2 separate regions of the Homo sapiens genome follow, and region 2 is linked to region 1. The links are contacts of gene promoters, found by promoter capture Hi-C in blood cells and fetal thymus (Javierre and others, 2016). All regions are on one chromosome and are shown on one strand. The core of a region is centred on a gene start or on the middle of the fragment in contact, and the rest is flanking DNA. Distances in the headings are between cores, read along the strand shown.

What was found. The method cuts DNA at HindIII sites, captures the fragments that hold promoters and counts their contacts. A CHiCAGO score of 5 or more calls a contact.
Region 2: a fragment that was not itself captured here is called in contact with the fragment with the promoter of URB1 in region 1 in 1 of 17 cell types (megakaryocytes); the score reaches 5.1 in megakaryocytes.

The regions. Positions count from the first base shown.
Region 1 is chr21:32,390,133-32,394,440 of GRCh38, forward strand. URB1 (URB1 ribosome biogenesis factor) reads right to left here and starts at 2,880. Exons shown (of 39, transcript NM_014825.3): 1 at 2,637-2,880. The coding sequence starts at 2,778. URB1-AS1 (URB1 antisense RNA 1 (head to head)) reads left to right here and starts at 3,001. Exons shown (of 1, transcript NR_026845.1): 1 at 3,001-3,828. RefSeq lists enhancers at 2,146-2,928, 2,788-3,082, 2,929-3,710, 3,233-3,482. The HindIII fragment of the contact is 11,778 bases long and covers 1-4,308 here.
Region 2 is chr21:32,664,244-32,668,772 of GRCh38, forward strand. SYNJ1 (synaptojanin 1) reads right to left here. Exons shown (of 33, transcript NM_203446.3): 16 at 2,190-2,330; 17 at 1,700-1,892; 18 at 670-828. It overlaps LOC124905011 (a long non-coding RNA gene), which reads left to right. Exons shown (of 2, transcript XR_007067845.1): 2 at 1-473. Among named protein-coding and RNA genes, the nearest start is that of CFAP298-TCP10L, 54 kb to the left of the region's middle. The HindIII fragment of the contact is 779 bases long and covers 1,665-2,443 here.

The DNA.
Region 1 (4,308 bases), core at 1,630-4,129:
GACTCAGCTTTGCCCCATCTTTCAACTACTCACCTACACCCATGCCCTGTCAACCTGGGTCTCCTTCTGACATGTGTTCAAATGATGTAGCACCTGAATGTCATGAGGCTCTCTGTGCAAGACCATGAAATATAGATACTACATCTTTTTAACAATTAAACGTGCTCTTTCTTCTGCCAGTAAGGTTCCTGTCCCTGTCCCATCCTACAATCCTTTTGAAAAGCCACTTCCTCTGATGGCCAGTGATGATGAGCATTTTTTCATGTGTCTTTTGGCTGCATAAATGTCTTCTTTTGAGAAGTGTCTGTTCATATCCTTTGCCCACTTTTTGATGGGGTTTTTTTTTTTCTTGTAAATTTGTTTGAGTTCATTGTAGATTCTGGATATTAGCCCTTTGTCAGATGAGTAGATTGCAAAAATTTTCTCCCATTCTGTAGGTCGCCTGTTCACTCTGATGGTAGTTTCTTTTGCTGTGCACAAGCTCTTTAGTTTAATTAGATCCATCAGAGAAATGCAAATCAAAACCACAATGAGATACCATCTCACACCAATTAGAATGGCGATCATTAAAAAGTCAGGAAACAACAGGTGCTGGAGAGGATGTGGAGAAATGGGAACACTTTTACACTGTTGGTGGGACTGTAAACTAGTTCAACCATTGTGGAAGTCAGTGTGGCGATTCCTCAGGGATCTAGAACTAGAAATACCATTTGACCCAGTCATCCCATTACTGGGTATATACCCAAAGGATTATAAATCATACTGCTATCAAGACACATGCACACGTACGTTTACTGTGGCACTATTCACAATAGCAAAGACTTGGAACCAACCCAAATGTCCAACAATGATAGACTGGATTAAGACAATGTGGCACATATACACCATGGAATACTATGCAGCCATAAAAAACGATGAGTTCATGTCCTTTGTAGGGACATGGATGAAGCTGGAAACCATCATTCTCAGCAAACTATCGCAAGGACAAAAAACCAAACACCGCATGTTCTCACTCATAGGTGGGAACTGAACAATGAGAACACATGGACACAGGAAGGGGAACATCACACACCGGGGCCTGTTGTCGGGTCGGGGGGAGGGGGGAGGGACAGCATTAGGAGATATACCTAAGGTTAAATGACGAGTTAATGGGTGCAGGACACCAACATGGCACATGTATACATATGTAACAAAGGGGCACGTTGTGCACATGTACCCTAAAACTTAAAGTATGATTAAAAAAAAAAGAAAAGAAAAGCCACTTCCTCAGGGGAGCCTTCTTTGAGCTCCCAGATTAGATCCAAGGTCTGTTAAACACCCTCAGGCACCATGTACCTCTCCTTTGGAAAACTCGTGCTTGAAACTGTATGTATGTGATTTTACTGACCAATATCTGCCTGCCCCACTCGACTGTTTGTAAACCCCACAATGGCAGAGGCTTTTTGACATTTTTATTCATCACTTTATCTCTACCGTAGCAAATAATAGCCTCTAGTAATACTTAATGAATTCGGAAATAAATAACTCTATGCTAACTAAGTATCATCTTCCTAGCTGTGACTAGCAAGTACAGGTATAGGTATCAAAGTTTAAAAACAGGCCAGGTGTGGTGGCTCATACCTATACTCCCAGCCCTTTGAGAAGACAAGGTGGGAAGATTGCTTGAGACTGGGAGTTCGAGGGCAGCCTGGACAACATAGTGAGATTCCATCTCTACAAAAAGTAAAAAAAAAAAAAAAAACATAGCTGGGCATGGTGTTGTGCACCTACAATCTCAGCTACTTGGGAGGCTGAGGTGGGAGGACAGCTTAAGCCCAGAAGTTCAAGGCTGCAGTGAGCTATGATAGTGCCACTGCACTTCAGCCTGGGCAACAGAGCAAGACCCTGTCGTTTAAAAAAAAAAATGAGGACAAAAATTGGAAGTTGAAGATATTTTGGCCATTAATTTAATCGTTTATTTAACCTGGGAGAAAAACTGCCACTGTTTTATTTTAGAGCAATGCTTCCACATGGCAACACGTTCAATTGCGTTTTTCCCAAACCATGTTACTTTCCAAACGATTACAAGTAGTCGCGAAGGGTGGTCACACTTTACAAAAAGTGTAATTAAATTATAGAGTCGGCTACATCTCAGTCACTGGCCCATTCCTGGTCAACTGACAAGTAGCTGTGGTGGCTTCTAGTAGCTTGTTACAAGTCATCAAGTCAGTATGAGTGTTGGGGGATGGAAGCTATTGAAAACGGTGCTGACGGCCCAAGGAGTAGCAAACTGTCTCATGAACCGTCCTGAGCCGACTCAGTAAGGACTCAATAGAGAAGGACACTTCATTTACTTCCCTGACAACTGCAATAAAGAGGTTTTAGAGCTCGCTGAGGGATGCTGCCTGGGCAAGGGAAATAAATGTGTTGTAACATGAAACGGTCCCAATCAAGCAAGTCGGGGCCCTCTCGCTGTCGCCGACAGTCCAGAGCAAGGAAGTACACAGCAGTCCTGAACCTCAGTTTTCTGCAAACCAGAGGCTTGCCACTGAGCCTATGTGACCCGAAAGCTGCAGAAAGGAGAGGCTGTGCCCGGCACACGGAGGCCGCCTCGCCAGCCTGTGCTCCCGACCCTGCGCCTGCCGCCCCGGACTCACCTGGCCCGGGGCCCTGCGGGTCCTTCAGCTGAGCCTTGAACCGCACGCCCGTGAGCTCTTCTTTGCGGGCGCGCTTGGCTGCACCCGCGGAGGAAGCCGCGCCGTCCTGGCCGCCCGAGGCCTTCCTCTTGGGGACCCCCATGGCCGAGAGGGCGGAAGCGCGACGGAAACGACACACCTGAGGGGACCCGGCAGGAGCACTGGCACAGACAGCAGACACGCGCTTCAGGCCCACATGGCGCAGGAAGAGGCGGGGCTGGCGGAAGAGGCGGGGCTGGCGGAAGAGGCGGGGCTCGGGGAAAGGCCGGCGGAAGGGGCCGACCCGCGCGAGGCTGGGACCGGCGGAAGGGGCGTGGCCTGCAGAAGGGGCGGGGCGATAGGGATCCAGAGTCTTGGGGATCCAGAGTCTTGGGGCTCCATGTGAGTTTGCTGTACCGGTTGTCCCGGTCACGGCATGGGGCGAGCGGACACTCCACGACACCCCCCGCCCCCGGCTGCAGGGTTTGGGGTCCACCGGGGCGCATTTCTGATCCCAGTGGCTCTTCGGGTGCTCTTGGCCGGAAGAACTCCCAGACCTTTCACTCCTGGCCTGGCCGATCCACGAAGACTCGGGCCCCGGCGCGTCCAAGCAGCACAATGAGTAGTTCTTGACCCGAGGTCGCCCTGAAGGTGTCGCATGAAGAGCTTGCTTCACACACAACAGGATTCGATACTTTGCCAATTCAAGGCCCTGGTGGCTGGCCGGGAAGGTGGATTCGCCTTGGCTAGGTGCCAGGCAGGTCCGCCTGTGCGGGTGCCCCTGACTTCGACCCCTAGCTTATGTCACAGCCCGAACCAGATCGACTGGTCTGGTAGCAGCCTGTCACTCCAGACTGTCCTCCACCCCAGACTTCCGCAAACTGATGGGCTCTTTGCGCCGTGCAGGGTGGGAGGAGAAGACCAAACGAAGTAACGTCTGTAAAACCCCTTCCTGGACAGCGTAAGGCCTCCACATCTAAGTTCCTGTCATTAAAATGGAGACAGCAAAGCCGACCCTATCCAGTCCTTGGGACTGTTATGAACAGAAAATGATGCAATGTATGAAAAACTGCTTTGAGGAGAAAAACAACACAGTGTGTTTTTGGAAGATGTGATTGATTTGTAAACCGCATTAAATGCTCTGAAATAAAATGAAAGTAAAAATAAGTAAAAACAGGCTGGTACATATTTTAATACGACTTCATCGATACTTAGGTATGTGTCCAAATAAATCATGAACCAGCGCATTAGATAAGTAACTTGGTGATTACTGAAATTCTCCATCAGGTTGTCCTCTAGTCTAAGAAAATTGTGTTTCATATTCTGTAAGCAGATGTGTTTTGAACATCTGAGGATGTGGGCTTTTGTGGCCTGTTGGGGTCTCAGAGTTTCTAGTAGAAAAAGCACGTGTGTTGACGCTGAGCCTCTGTCCCGACAAGATGATTGTGCCTGTGGAGATGTCTATGTTGTAGGCAGGTCAGAGAGAGGGTGTCACCCCTAGCAGATATGAGCTAATGCAGCAATGTTAAGAGAGGGGAATATGCTCAAAAAGTCATCTGTAAAAGGCAACACTCATTAGTGAATACAGACTTAATTCTGACTGATTATCCACACTGGTCCTCTTCTTTGGTTAATCGCTAACCACCAACTTTGT
Region 2 (4,529 bases), core at 804-3,303, 270 kb after region 1:
ATGGGTAATGAGGATGAAAGTGAGAACTCCCATTAATGAGTGAAGTTCTCAAAGGGGGGAATAAGGGAGGAGACCACCCCTCATATTGTCTTATGCCCAATTTCTGCCTCCAAAGAAAGAAGTGAAAACTAAAAGGCAGAAATGGAATCACAGGCAGATAGCCCAGCACTGTGCCCTGGGCCTGGTAGTTAAAAATCAACCCTTGACCTAACCGCTTGTGCTATCTATAGATTTCAGACATTGTATGGAAAAGCATCGTGAAAATCCCTGTCCTGTTCCATTCTGATTACCAGTGCATGCAGCCCCCAGTCCCATACCCCCTGCTTGCTCAATCGATCACGACCCTCTCACATGGACTCCCTTAGAGCTGTAAGCCCTTAAAAGGGACAGGAATTGCTCACTCGGGGAGCTCGGTTTTTGGAGACGTGAGTCCGCTGCTGCTCCCAGCTGAATAAAGCCCTTTCCTTCTACAACTTGGTGTCTGAAGGGTTCTTGTCTGCAGCTCATCCTGCTACACTTTAAGGAAAGATAATTCTATTATCTGTTTACCTACAGATGCATATTTAAGTACAAAAAGACCCCAAGAAAATTTTAAAACATCTTGATTTAAAAAGGCATGTTTCACGACCCAAAATCTTAATGCAAGTATTTTCTCAAGTATAGATATACCTGTCCAGCATTTTTCTGATTGATAAGTTGATCTCCTGCTATAAGAGAATCCCAATTTTGCTGTCTTATGAGCTCTTTAACTTCTTCGTTAGGGAGATCGATTCGATAGTTGAAATCACCACACCAAAATACATAGTCATGGGAAAATAGCATCCTTCCCTGAAAGCAATGAGATAGAATTTTAAATTCAAAACAATCAATGTTCAAAAATGTTTTACAACTATTTCTTTGCCTGAGATATGCTTGTCTCCTCCCATGTCCTGTTTCTTTGACCCAACAGTAATAACACATGTGAAACGAAAATAAATCTCAGGACCCCAAAATCACTAAGCCCAGAGAAAAATCAAGCCAGGAACTATGACAGGTAAACCTGCCTCCCATTTTACTCCTAAATAAGATAGCTCCAAAGATAAGAAGCTACATAACTCCCTCACAATTTGCCCACAGGAAATTCCTTGTGGACAAAGTATAGACTGAACTCAAAGTCATCCCTCTGAGACTCACCTGAGACAAATGCACATCTGACTGCTTCCTCTGCCCTATTGTTTATGCAAAAATGCAGATTCACTGAGCCACACTAAATTGTGTATTCAGTGGAAGGCTGATCTAGGACTTAAAAGAATGCAACCTTTTGCGTCTTATCTACTTCTAACCTGGAAGCCCCCACTTCGAGTTGTCCTGCCTTACCAGACCAAACCAGTGTACATCATACACATACTGACTGATGTCTCAGGTCTCCCTAAAATGTATAAAAGCAAACTGTACCCCCGACCACCTTGGGCACATGTCATTCTGAATTCTGGAGGCTATATCATGGCCACATCCTTAACCTTGGCAAAATAAACTTTCTAAATTGACTGAGCCCTGTCTCAGATATTTTGGGTTAATACTCATGAAATATCTATTTAGGTGAATATTCTTAATGTTTCTAGGAACTATCTTAAATTTCCAAAAACATTGATGTAGAATTTGGGGCAAATTAAAATATATTTCAAAGCTTTATCTTCAAGAACAAGCAGCAAGAGCTTACCATAGGAAAACTCAATTTTCGTGCTATTTCTATAAAATCTTCATTTCTTTCTTTGACTTGTGACTGCCCTGCAGCAAAGTGGCTACAGACGAAGCAAAGGCTGGTTGTATGGAAGAGCATTCGGATTGCAACTGCTCCCTTATTTCCAGTTGCACCTCCCATTCCAGTCTTCACAGTATCAACTGCAACATCCCTTTGAAACAAAGAATTCTAAATCGCAGATTTGAAATTTCAAGAGTTCCATGTGCATAGGAAATGAGGAATATACATAATCATTTAAGTACACATGGTATGGTACTTTGAGGGCAAGCCTTTGAAATAGTACAGTGAAGCTATTGGTGAGTCTTTAATCAAAACCCCCAAAACCCCATTTTAAAACAAGAACTATGGATAGTTTTTGTTTGAAGAACTGAAACAATAAACATTCTAGGCTTTTTTCTTGTTATTTAATGGTAGGAAGTAGCCTTAGAGGAGTGTTCTGTTTACTGACCTGATAAAAGGAGCATGCTGTGGTCTGATAAAAACAAACAAACAGACGCCCACCAACTGTTCAGAAGCCAGCAGCACATACTTGTTGTCTCTGGAGATTGTCTTCTGAAGTTCTACAGCCCAGAGCTTCTGATTTGTTGTGCTACAAGAAAATATTAAAAAGAGAATTTTTTAAAAAGGTATTGACAATAGCCTATTTTATGACAATTGTCAATTATACCTTTATCTACCCAAATATCCTAAGACTCTGAAGGAAGCTTAGGCTGTTTTTGTTTCCTTTAAAAAGGAAAATCTACAATTTAGCCAAAAGAAAACCACATTTCAAAATCTAATCTATTACTTCTTTACAAAGAAAATATAAAGACATTAAATGGCTACTCACTGGGTGAGTAAATTCAAACTTATACATTTTACTTTTTCCTTAAGTATTCATTAAGATCACAGAGAAGTATAGAAGTATCTGTGGGAGATTGGTTTCAGGACCTCCCATGATACCAAAATCCAAGGATACTCAAGTCCCTTACATAAAATGGAGTAATACTTGCATATAACCCATGTAAATCTCTCGTATACTTTAAATCATCTCTAGATTACCTATAATACCTAATACAATGTAATTAGTTGTTATATTGTAATGTTTAGGGAATAACGATACAAAAAAGTCTGCAAGTAAAAAAGACAAAAAAAAAAAGGCTACACATGTTCAGTATAGACACAATTTTAAAAAATATTTAATATTTTGATGAGTTGAATCCAAAGATGTCAGACCCATGGATAAGGACAGCTAACTGTGCACATATATGTGACTATATGTGCTTCCAAATACATTTCCCCACTTTTCAAAATTTTTCTAAATTATAACTAATGTCTTTTTAAAAAATCTTGCTATGGGAAATTAGAAGACATAATCATTAAACAAACCACCATATACCCATTTCAAAATTACCAACATTTTGCCAATCTATTTTTTCCATCCTCTTCACCTTATCACATTTAAACATTAATAATTCCTTAATATCATCTAATAGTTTATACTTAAAGTTCCCCATTTATTAAAAAAAAATCTTCTAACAGTTGGTTTGTTTCTTTAAAAAGGGTCCAAACAAGGTCTACATATTGCATTTGCTTGTCATGTCTCCTAATCTCTCTTTTTTTCTTGAGATGGGGTCTCACTCTGTCACCCAGGGCTGGAGTGCTGTGGCAGGATGTCGGTTCACTGCAACCTCTGCCTGAGCTCAAGCGATCCTCCCACCTCAGCCCCGCAAGTAGCTGAAACTCATTCCTCATCTTCTCAATGAACCTTATCTTGATCATTCATTTGAGACTTCCAACACTTCCCTGTGTCCCTATAGTTGATCTCCTTTTCCTCTCTTTTCCATTGCACTTTTCTAACATGCTGTATAATTTACTTATTGTTGTTATTGTTCACTGTCCGTTTCTTCCCACTAGAATACGAAGTCCATGAAGATAGGGATTTTTGTCTGTTTGATTCATTGGAGGTACTTAAGAGTGGTACTCAGTAGGTACTGCTTAAATAAATGAATAAATATTCACTACTTTATTAAAGAAGAATATATATGTGTGTGTGTGTGTGTGTGTGTGTGTGTGTGTGTGTGTGCATGTGTGTATATATATATACATATACATATTTGAGACAGAGTCTTGCTCTGTCACTCAGGCCGGAGTGCGGTGGTGCGATCTCCACTCACTGCAACCTCCGTCTCCCAGGTTCAAGCGATTCTCCCTGCCTCAGCCTCCTGAGTAGCTGGGATTACAGGCACGGGGCACCACGTCCAGCTGATTTTTTTGTATTTTTAGTAGAGATAGGGTTTCACTATATTGGCCAGGCTGGTCTCAAACTCCTGACCTCAAGTGATCCACCTGCCTTGGCCTCCCAAAGCATTGGGATTACAGGCATGAGCCACCACACCCAGCCTAAAGAATTTGATTAAACCTAGCCTAAAGAAGAATTTGATTAAACTCTATTTAGACAAACAATTGATCCATGCACTTAGTACTAGGAACCCTCAGAGTTATAGTCTAGTTTAGGACCTGAATATATTTTTCAGGAAACATAATCAAACAACAAAATGGGTGAAGTTGATTTCTTTCCAATTTTCCTGATGTGAATTGTTTTTCATTTTGCCTAATAAAATATTTGTCACTTGCAAGATTGATGACTATTTCAGCCTATAATTTTCTCCTAAAAATCTTTAAAAATGTCATAAAAGATGGGAAACTGCTGAAATTTAAAAGCAAGCATACTTTGTTAAAATAAAACACTGAAGTTTTAAGCCTCACTCATATAATTTGTATTTATAATATGGATTCAGAACAGCGT